Regions from separate parts of the Homo sapiens genome. Here all the other regions are linked to region 2. Evidence: promoter capture Hi-C in human tissues and cell types (Jung and others, 2019). All regions are on one chromosome and are shown on one strand. Each heading gives the region's core, a stretch centred on a gene start or on the middle of the fragment in contact. The rest is flanking DNA. Distances are from core to core; before and after follow the strand shown.

The links. The method cuts DNA at HindIII sites, captures the fragments that hold promoters and counts their contacts. A contact is called where the count stands out against the background at its distance.
Region 1: a fragment that was not itself captured here is called in contact with the fragment with the promoter of RUSC2 in region 2 in 1 of the 25 tissues and cell types used here (spleen).
Region 3: a contact is called between a fragment that was not itself captured here and the fragment with the promoter of RUSC2 in region 2, in 5 of the 25 tissues and cell types used here (IMR-90 fibroblasts, aorta, dorsolateral prefrontal cortex and 2 more).

The regions. Positions count from the first base shown.
Region 1 is chr9:35,893,962-35,897,295 of GRCh38, reverse strand. No RefSeq gene overlaps it. Among named protein-coding and RNA genes, the nearest start is that of HRCT1, 11 kb to the left of the region's middle. RefSeq lists an enhancer at 1,407-1,906. The HindIII fragment of the contact is 7,635 bases long and covers 1-3,334 here.
Region 2 is chr9:35,488,741-35,492,147 of GRCh38, reverse strand. RUSC2 (RUN and SH3 domain containing 2) reads right to left here and starts at 2,037. Exons shown (of 12, transcript NM_014806.5): 1 at 1,976-2,037. It overlaps LOC105376026 (a long non-coding RNA gene), which reads left to right and starts at 521. Exons shown (of 2, transcript XR_929580.4): 1 at 521-717; 2 at 892-1,029. RefSeq lists a silencer at 2,069-2,368. The HindIII fragment of the contact is 10,278 bases long and covers 1-3,407 here.
Region 3 is chr9:35,141,224-35,144,692 of GRCh38, reverse strand. No RefSeq gene overlaps it. Among named protein-coding and RNA genes, the nearest start is that of UNC13B, 19 kb to the left of the region's middle. The HindIII fragment of the contact is 3,957 bases long and covers 177-3,469 here.

The DNA.
Region 1 (3,334 bases), core at 384-2,883, 410 kb before region 2:
TTAGAGATGATGTGACTACATATCTGGAAAACTTGAAAGAATATACTGGAGAACTATTAACACTAATAAGAGTTAATTTAAAAATTCAAATTTTTAAATAAAACTTAATTTAAATTTTTGACCAGGAGCAGTGGCTCATGCCCATAATCCCAGCACTTTGGGAGGCTAAGGCAGGCAGATCATTTGACTCCAGGAGTTCAAGACCACCCTGGCCAACATGGTGAAATCCCATCTCTAAATAATAATAATAATAATAATAATAATAATAATAAATTTAGATTCTAAAATTTAAAAATAAAAATACAAAATCGGTGATTTTCCTACATAACAGTAATTACTAATTCAAAGACAGAATGAAGGCATTATTGAAACTTAAAACAAAAATTATAAAACTTCTAAGAACAAACAAGAATAAACTTAACAAGAGATGTGGAAGACCAATGAACAAAAGAAAAAGCAAGTCTTCACTGACAGCTGTGAAAGAAGACCTGACTAACCGAAGCACCACACCATGTGTCTGAAAGGGAGGAGCCCGCATTATAGTCCAGGCTGCACTTCAGGGGATATGGATCCTGTGAGACTTGCAAACAACCTGCCACAAGCATCTGTTAAATAAATTCTTATATGCTATAGAGGTAATATTTTTGAAAAGTAGTAATATACTTTTTTTGAGATAGGATCTTGCTCTGTTGCCCAGGCTAGAGTGCAGTGGCATGATCAGAGCTCACTGCAGCCTCTACCTCCTCCCAAACAATCCTCCCGCCTCAGCCTCCCAAGTAGCTGGGACTCCAGGTGTGTGCCACCACGTCTGGCTAACTTTTTTATTCTTTGTAGAGACGTGGTCTCGCTATGTTGCCTAGACTGATAACCTGCTCTTTAAAGTTACTTTTCCAAATATGTAAGTTTCTTCCTAGTTGTTCCAGAGCATTTGTCTGGAGAGAGAGTTGAATTATTACAAAAAGAATGCAAGGAGAAGGACTTTAATATGCATGCAGTCTTTGACCTTCAAAATTGGACTTTGCCCTGTAAGTCAAGCCAGTTTCCTAAGAGGATTTTCCAAATTCTTTTTTCTCTCCCTTTCAACACACTGAATCAAGGACCAAACGAGGACCCAGCCCATGCAGATCTCCTATAACGTAGAAAGCTCCTCCATTCCACATGCGACAGCCATGTAGCCGAAGTTTGAAGCTCTAAGGTAGATGGAGGCCATGATATCCAGGCCTGGGAGAAGCCTGGTTCCTTCTGGCCCCAAAGGATGATGGGAAGGAGAGAGAAGAAAGGCATGAAGTGCAAAATGTGTGCAGCAGCTGCTAGGGAGCTTCAAAAACAAATGGGGAAGGCTACAGGAAGACAGGGCTAGAGGTGAATACACTGAGGCACTGATGTTATTTGGATGGGGAGTGTGGTCTGCAAAATCTAGGAATTCATGAAAATGTGACCTCATTTGTACATGCAGGGTGGTTAGTGCTGGCAATGTTTGTGTTACACCTATAAACACGCACAGACAGAAGTCTGAAGAGCTACAAGATGCAATCTTTATAGGGCTTCCTCTGAGCAGTGAGTTTGCAGGTGACTGCTTTTTATTTGGCATTTCTACATTTCTAAAACTTGCAACAATAAACATTTTACTTGTATAATAATGAAAGCAACAAAAGTTACAGCACCTTTAGAAAAATATTCAGAAGCATGCCCACCAAGTAGAACAGGTCTGCAAAGTGATCCACCTATTCACCAACGAAGAGAGCAGCTAGACCCCAGAATCATAAGCTTCATTGGTGTCATTTTAAAGATGCCAGCCAGGCGCGGTGGCTCATGCCTGCAATCCTAGCACTTTCGCAGGCCAAGGGCGGCGGATTGCCTGAGCTCAGGAGTTCGCAACCAGCCTGGGCGACACAATGAAACCCCATCTCTACTAAAATACAAAAAAATTAGCCAGGTGTGGCGGCGTGCGCCTGTAGTCTCAGCTACTCAGGAGGCCAAGGCAGGAGAATCGCTTGAACCCGGGAGGCAGAGGTTGCAGTGAGCCGAGATCGCGCCACTGTGCTCCAGCCTGGGTGACAGAGCGAGACTCTGTCTCAAAAAAAAAAAAAAAAGATGCCAACAGGTGGAAGAGGTCTCCTAGATTCACTGTCCTTGGGGATGTGTGGGAGCTGATTAATCCAAGGGGACTGCTTCTCCTGCCTTCCCTGGGCAGCATGTCCATGGGCTTTGAGACATGTATATGCAGTAAACATAGTGAACTTTCTTGAGCCTAAGTTTGCCCTCATGCACAACGAGGGAAGAACTGGAGACAGATTGAATCTGTGCAGTCTAAGATTTATTGCTCTCTGGATTTTCAAGTCTCTGTAATTTTCTGAAATCATTATCTAAAGATAATTGTGACACTTAGAATTATATTCATTGATATAACTAACATCTGTTGAACTAGACTCTGTGCCTGGTGCTGAGGCTGGGTAGAAAAAAGACAATCCATGCCTTCCAAGAGCTTTTTACCTAGGACAGGAGACAGAAATATAAATTATTACAACACACTGGGTAAATTCTGGGACCTAAATATTCACAAGGAAAGCACAAAAGGAGTCATTCATAAGCAATAATCTCCTTTCCTTTTCCTCCCCAACTATTTTAATAATTGCTAGAATAATTACACTTTACAAATGTATCTTTAGATCTCACAACAAACCTATTGTCCTCACATTACATAGGAGGCTTAGAGAGTTAAAGCTCTCACTGTTGCCCGGCATGGTGGCTCACCCCTGTAATCCCAGCACTTTGGGAGGCCAAGGTGGGTGGATCACCTAAGATCAGGAATTCGAGACCAGCCTGACCAACATGGTGAAACCCCATATCTACTAAAAATACAAAAAAATAGCTGGGTGTGTAATCCCAACTACTCAGGAGGCTGAGGCAGGAGAATCGCTTGAACCTGGGAGCAGAGGTTGCAGTGAGCCGAGATCGTGACACTGCACTCCAGCCTGGAGGATACAGTGAGACTCTGTCCCCCAAAATAACAAATAAATAAATAAAGCACCCATTCTGGGTCACGCAGTAGTAAATGACAGAGCCAGAATCAAGTGCAGACCTGTCTGACCCCAAAGCCTACCTCTAACCCAGAACAATATTGTGCTAGGCTGAGAGATGTAACCGAGTATGATGCTTCACTCAGAAAGCTTGCTCTCTGATGGGAAAGAGAAGTCATGTCTCCGAGAATCCACAGGAGAGGAAAATCAGGACACAGGCATAAGAGGATAATAAAGAGGAAAAGGAGAGAAGCTTTCAAGTTCTTTTGCCCTGAAATTTGAAAAAGCTCCTGATTAAGCTTTTGTAGAACAAT
Region 2 (3,407 bases), core at 788-3,287:
GAGAAAAATAACCCAGGGTGTTCTGGGGTAACTGAGGTCTTAACAGGAAGCCTAGACAGGAAAAAGTAGAAAAGGCCATTAAAAAGATACTGTTAAAAAAAAATTGTATTGCTTAATCCATCCAGATCAGGAGCCCCTCCCCACACTGGGTTTCTATGATCCAAGGCTTTATTTTGAGACAGAGCATTGCTCTGTCACCCAGGCTGGAGTGCAGTGGCATGATCTCAGCTCACTGCAACATCTGCCTCCCAGGTTCAAGGGGTTCTCCTGCCTCAGCCTCCTGAGTTGCTGGGACTTCAGCCTCCTGAGTTGCTGGGACTACATGTGCACACCACCATGCCCGGTAATTTTTGTATTTTTAGTAGAGATGGGGTTTCACCATGTTGGCCAGGCTGATCTTGAACTTCTGACCTCTAGTGATCCGCCCACCTGGGCCTCCCAAAGTGCCGGGATTACAGGCTGAGCCACTGTGCCTGGCCTGATCCAAGACTTTATAAAGACATGTAAGAGGGTGGGAGACAGAAAGCGGAAAAGGATACATCAAAACTAGCAATGGATGAATGAGAACATGTCCAGCCTCCAGTTAAGGCAACTGTGGCTTCAAAAAGGAATCTTAAATACCAGCACAGAAATCAGAGGGATCCTAACCTGGCTCAAAACAGAAGAGAAACAGTGGCTGGCCATACAGCAGGACGGGCATAACTAACAGAATACCAGGTATACTGTTTGGATCTGCTCTTCCTTCCATTAAGCCATCCACCACTGCTTAATATCTAAGGAGCCGGCTAAGAAAATCCAGTCACTACTTTTATTTGCTAATACTTTGAGCCCCAGTTACAATAATGCCACTACTAATTAGGTAACTACTTTCTACCTTATCAACTCCTACAGCTTTCCAGCCATTGTTTCATCCCTCAGCGATACCACCTGCTTCCGCGTGGAACCCAAACCCCCAGGAAACTAAATCTGCTCAGGTCACCCACCTAGGAATAAATAAAAACAGGTTTCAGGCCCTTTGTCCTTTGTAAATTCCGCCTTTTTTTTTTTTTTAAGGCCTGTGTTCTTTATCACGGACACTGTTCACATAGTGGTAATCCTTGCCTGACTCAGATCTACTTGTTCCTGCGTTTCATTCCTCCGCTGCTCAATTACTTGTTCAAAACGCAAAGGACAACTGGTAGTGAAGACCCTCCACCAGCAACACTACCATGTGCCAGGCACCGTGCTGGGGACCGGGGATACAAAGATGAGTAGTGTACCGTCCTTGCCCCCAGGACAGTTCCCCGTGTCCGCAGGGCCGGCCTGGAGGGCCACAGCCAACTGTGGGCAACAGGATCACCGTGCCCTTCGCGGCAAGTGAGTGCAGTAGTAGGGGACGGTTACTGCCAAGCCAAAGGTTTTCTCCAGGTAAAACTGGATGACAGAGAGACAGAGACTGAAGCAACGCCGGCGCCGGGCGGATAATAAAGGGAGGCAGGGGCTAAAAGGGTGGAGGGAGCAGAGGACCCGGCCGGGAACTGGCAGTAGGGAGGCCCCCGCTGCAGTCGCCGGCCTGGGTGCCGGGCGGCCACGCTTCCCCAAAGCCGTCACAGGGACTTGGGGTACCAAGGTGACTACTGGGCGCGAGTCGTTTTGTGGGGGGAGGGTGTCCCCAAGGGGGCAGTTTGAGGAGACGGTTGGGGATGCATCTGGGGTGGCGCCCAAAGGGACGGTGGGTGCTGGGTGTTTGAAGGTCCGGTGGACGCAGAGCTGAAGGGTCAGGAGAAGGCCAAGGGTCAGAAGGGCTGGGGACGAGGTCTGCCCAGGGGGTCGGGGCGGACGCAGAGGGCGGGTGCAGCCGAGGGGGAAGGGCTGAAGGGAAGGGCAGGCGCTGAAGGCACATAGGTGGGAAGACAGGCCCTCCCCTAAGGGAGACCTTGGAACGCGGGGCAGTGGGTCTGTGGGACCCTGCCCGCCTCCGGAGAGGCGTTCCTACCTCGTTTCTCGCCTCAGCCTCGTCCTTCCGCGCCGGCGGCGGCGGCGGCGGCGGCGTGTCTCGCCCTCCAGGGGTCGCGTTGCAGGCTAGAGGCGCCGGCGGCCCCTCCCTCCGGGCGGGTTGGAAAGGCCGGCCCCTGTCGGCGTGGCGCGATGGTCCGATCTGGGTTGCCCTCAGGCCGCCCCTCCGGGCGGCGCGTTGGTTCGGTCCGCCCGGCCTAAGGTGCTCGCCCCCTCCCCGGCTCCCGCAGCGATGGGCGCAGCCGAGTCACGCGCAGAGCTTTCCCGCTAAGGGAGCGGAGAGGCTTCCGCCGTGGCCCAATCTTCTGCGGCCCGCGCCCGCCCCCGCGGGGTGGTGCCTGGCGACGCGCGGCTCCCGGGTGCTGGAACCCAGGGAAACCTTCCGCGGGCCTCCAGGGCCGGTGGGTGTGAGTCCCAGCTTCGCCTGAGGCGGCGGTTCTCAACGCTGGCTTCCCAGTAGAACCTAGTGTGGAAACTAACCAAACAACAGAAGGAGGGCTGACCTCACACTGGACCGACTCAGAACCACTGGGGTGGAGTGGGGTGGGGTGAGGTGGGGTTGGCCTCCAGTGCATAGCCAGGGTTCGGAACCCCTGATGAAACGTAGAACCCATGCGCCCCCTGCCCTTCAGGGCCGGATGTGTGGGGGACATGGAAGATGCCTGTGTGTGACTCCTGCTGTTTACAGCCAGAGGGGGATGGGGCAGGCAGTCCTGCAAATGTTATGGGAAACCCACTGTATTAGTCCGTTCTGACACTGCTATGAAGAAATACTATGAAGGAAAGAGGTCTGACTCACAGTTCCGCATTGTTGGCGAGGCCTCAGGAAGCTTATAATCATGGCAAAAGGCAAAGAAGTAGCCATCCTTTTCGCAGGGTGGCAGGACAGAGTGAGTGCAGGCAAGGGAAATGCCAGACGCTTATAAAATCATCAGATCTTGTGGGACTCACTCACTGTCACGAGAAGGGCGCAGGGGAAACCAGCCCCATCATCCAATTACCTCCACCTGTTCCCGCCCTTGACACAGGGGGATTATGGGAATTACAATTCAAGATGAGATTTTGGGTGGGGACACAGCCAAACTGTTACAGGTAGTTAGGCATGAGCGGGGCAGGAGAGGGTTCTCCCCTGCTACCCACTAGGGATGTTGGGTGATGGTTCTGAGGCAGGAGAATAGGGACTGGAGGCAGGGAACCTAAGACTGGTTCATGCCAACTTCCTGGAACTAAATTGAAAGGAAAACCCTAACTTTCCACACCTAAGTAACAAACCCCCCACCCAACTTTTCTGCCCAGCAGATGGGAAATTGGCTATCTGCAACCAATTAGACTGACTGCAGCCGAGTCTAACTTTGCATAGAAGTATAACTTTGTAACTTCACCCTAGCCTCTGATTGGTTGCTTCTTGCAAC
Region 3 (3,469 bases), core at 906-3,405, 350 kb after region 2:
CAGGCCCCCTGCTTAGAACAACAGCACAAAAGCCTGTATACATGTAATGCCATCCCACTTTCCCATTCAACAGTAACCTTCAGATTCCATACAATACTGGGGGCCAAGCAGTATTGCAACTGTGAGAGAAAAGTCTAAGGAGGGTTCAGTACTAGACCTCAGAATCTTTGCCAAGGGCATCCTCTTTGGAGAGGGCGATGTCTGGAGGATCCCGTGGGGCGTCCCCCTTTGGGATCCAATCTTGGAGTGTCAGATATCTCTGACCTTAGGTGGGCACCGGTGCCACTTTATGTTTTCCCCCCAAAGGCAATGGCCTAACTATGAGCCTTACAAGGCCACACTTTCCCATGCTTTCCATTCCACTAGAGTGATAGCCATGAACTAAAAGGCATTACAGCTTTACTATTCTTTCAAAATATTTGATCTAAGTGCTATTTTTCTTTCATTTTTTTATTTTTTGAAACAGAGTCTCACTCTGTCACCCAGGGTGGAGTGCAGTGGCACAGTCTCGGCTCACTGCAACCTCTGCCTCCTGGATTCAAGTGATTCTTGTGTCTCAGCCTCCCAAGTAGCTGGGGCTACAGGCACAAGCCACCACACCTAGCTAATTTTTTGTATCTTTAGTAGAGACGGGGTTTCACCATGTTGGCCAGGCTGGTCTCAAACTCCTGACCTCAGGTGATTCACTCACCTCAGCCTCCCAAAGTGTTGGGATTATAGGCATGAGCCACTGTACCAAGCCTAAGCACTATTTTTCTTTTTTCTTTTTCTTTTCTTTTTTTTTTTTTTTGAGATGGAGTCTCACTTTGTCACCCAAGCTGGAGTGCAGTGGCATGATCTTGGCTCACTGCAACCTCTGCCTCCTGGGTTCAAGTGATTCTCATGCCTCAGCCTCCCGTGTAGCTGGGACTACAGGTGCGAGCCACCATACCCGGCTAATTTTTTGTATTTTTAGTAGAGACAGGGTTTCACCACATTGGCCAGGCTGGTCTCAAACTCCTGACCTCAAGTGATCTGCCCGCCTCAGCCTCCCAAAGTGCTGGGATTACAGGCATGAACCATCGTGCCCAACAGTGCTATTTTTCTTTAAGCCAATCAGTTAGAGCTCTTTTATGTAAACATCACACATGACATATATATATCTACACAAACGGAGATCCAGTAGTTGTAAGATTTTTCATGTGCCAATCTGTTTTGTTTTGTTTTGTTTTGTTTTTTTGAGATGGAGTCTCGCTCTGTCACCCAGGTCGGAGTGCAGTGGCATGATCTCAGCTCACTGCAAGCTCCGCCTCCCAGGTTCACGCCATTCTTCTGCATCAGCCTCCCTAGTAGCTGGGACTACAGGCACCCACCACCATGCCCGGCTAATTTTTTTGTATTTTTAGTAGAGACGGGGTTTCACCATGTTAGCCAGGATGGTCTTGATCTCCTGACCTCATGATCCACCCACCACGGCCTCCAAAAGTGCTGGGATTACAGGCGTAAGCCACCGCGGCCGGCCTCATGTGCCAATCTCTTAATTGCATTGCTGGCCCTGGGGTGGAGCCCTTCAAGAACCAGGGCCAGGAAAACATAGTTTCTGTGGTCTAATAAGTAGGCATAGCTGGAAGATTAAAAAAAAAAATTGAGAGGGATCCATCCACCTCTAATCTCTGAGGCTCTATCAGGAAAACAGAGGTTTTTCCCAAAAACAGGTCAGTGGCACCTCCTCCATTTTCCCAAGGAGTCCTAGGCCATCTGAGGTTAAGTTGGGGCCCCTCATGTTGCACATAAAGAGTGGCAAGACACAAATGGAGAATTCAGTTGACTGAGAAGAAAAAACCTTTTCCCAAAAACAAGATCCACGAAGGGAAAAGACATAAAGGCCTTTTACATATACCTATAGCTTGGATATCCATGGACATCTACTTTTAATTAAGCTGACTTTTAATTAAGCTGACTTAACTAACACTCCTTTCTTAAGAAGTCCTAAGTCTCTTATTACCCAACTTCAGCCATGCCACAAAGGCCAACACTTCTGGCTTTTGAACTCATGGAGGGGTAGAGAATATAGTGATTTTTATCATTCCTGCAACCAGTTTGCCCACAGAGAAGCCAGAAGTCCAACTGGTAAGAATTTTTACCCTTTTGCTGGCATTCAGACTTCTGGGTTCCCTTCCCCCAAGCCATGGAGCCCTACTGACTCTAAAGTCCTGTTCAGTGATTTAGGATGTGCCCACGGAGTGCAGGCTGAAAATGATTGGTTGGTTACCCATCTGGAAAGAGGGGAAAAAGGCATCCTTTGTTCCTCTCTCTTCCCAGTGAATACCCGGGGTACGTGACACAGAGCAGAAAAGGCATTCCTCTTTCTTTTTTCAAGCTTATATACCTGAGTCCTGGCAACCTGTTCAAGTCCCAACCATGGGTGCAAGTGTGACCTTCATCCATGAAGTGGGAGGCATAGCCAACAGGAATATTCACACTCACCTGAGCAGAGCCTAAGCCTTCCACTGTCAGTAACCTTTGAGTTCCCTGGACCTTATCTATGCCATGGATGCGAGCATGACCTCCATCCATGAAACGGGAGGACCTAATTAGCGGGAATTAGTCATACTCACCTGCACTGTGCCCCTCAACTCCCACTGTCATCTACCTCAGGTCTAGTATTCCATTCCAGGGTTTCAAACTGAAGCTTGGGACAAAAAGGTGCCAAAAAAGGAGGGTGGATGAATCCTTTAAATTAGTCCCAGATGGTCCTCACCAAATTGCAGCTAGCAACTGCCAGGAGCTGCTCCTCTGTTGCCTGCCTATCAACAGCAGGTGAAGCTGTGGGGCCAGGTCCTCCTGAAACAAGGGAGATAAAGGGAGTCCCAGGAATTGGGGACCTAGCCTAAGAAGGCGACAATTAAGAGGCTGGGCTTTTCCTGAGATGACCCTCACAGTCATGCTAACAGAGGAGGGGGTCTATATTGGAGAAGGGGCCTAGATTGGAGAAGAGACCTGAATGGCCCACTCAAGTCCAGGAGGAAGCCCATCCTCCTTCTCTCGATCCCCTAAATCACCCGAGGCTCCAGGATGGCAATAGCAGTCTGAATCACCAAAGTCAGGGAAAGGAACCCTGGGACCCATCAGCCCTACTGTACCATTTGGGAGACCGGCCCTGGACCTGGCAGCCCATGTCTCAGGGACAGCTAGCCCTCCAATGGTTTGCATTTACAGCAGCCAACAGGTACAGCTTAGGAATTCTGAGGTTTGTGCAAGGTGGCTATTAGAGCCTTTGCCTTTTTCTTGTGTCTCCTTGCTCTCGGGCTTCCTGATCTCTGTTGTAAAAGACCAAGGTGGCCACTTTCAGGAGGTCCTCTAAAGTATTACCCGGTCTTATGGACTTTTCTGCAGTTTCCTCCTGATATCAGGGGCTGACTAAGTAATAAACTCATCCCCTAGGACCAGCTGTCACCCTATTGAATCAAGAGATAGGTGTGTTTTACCA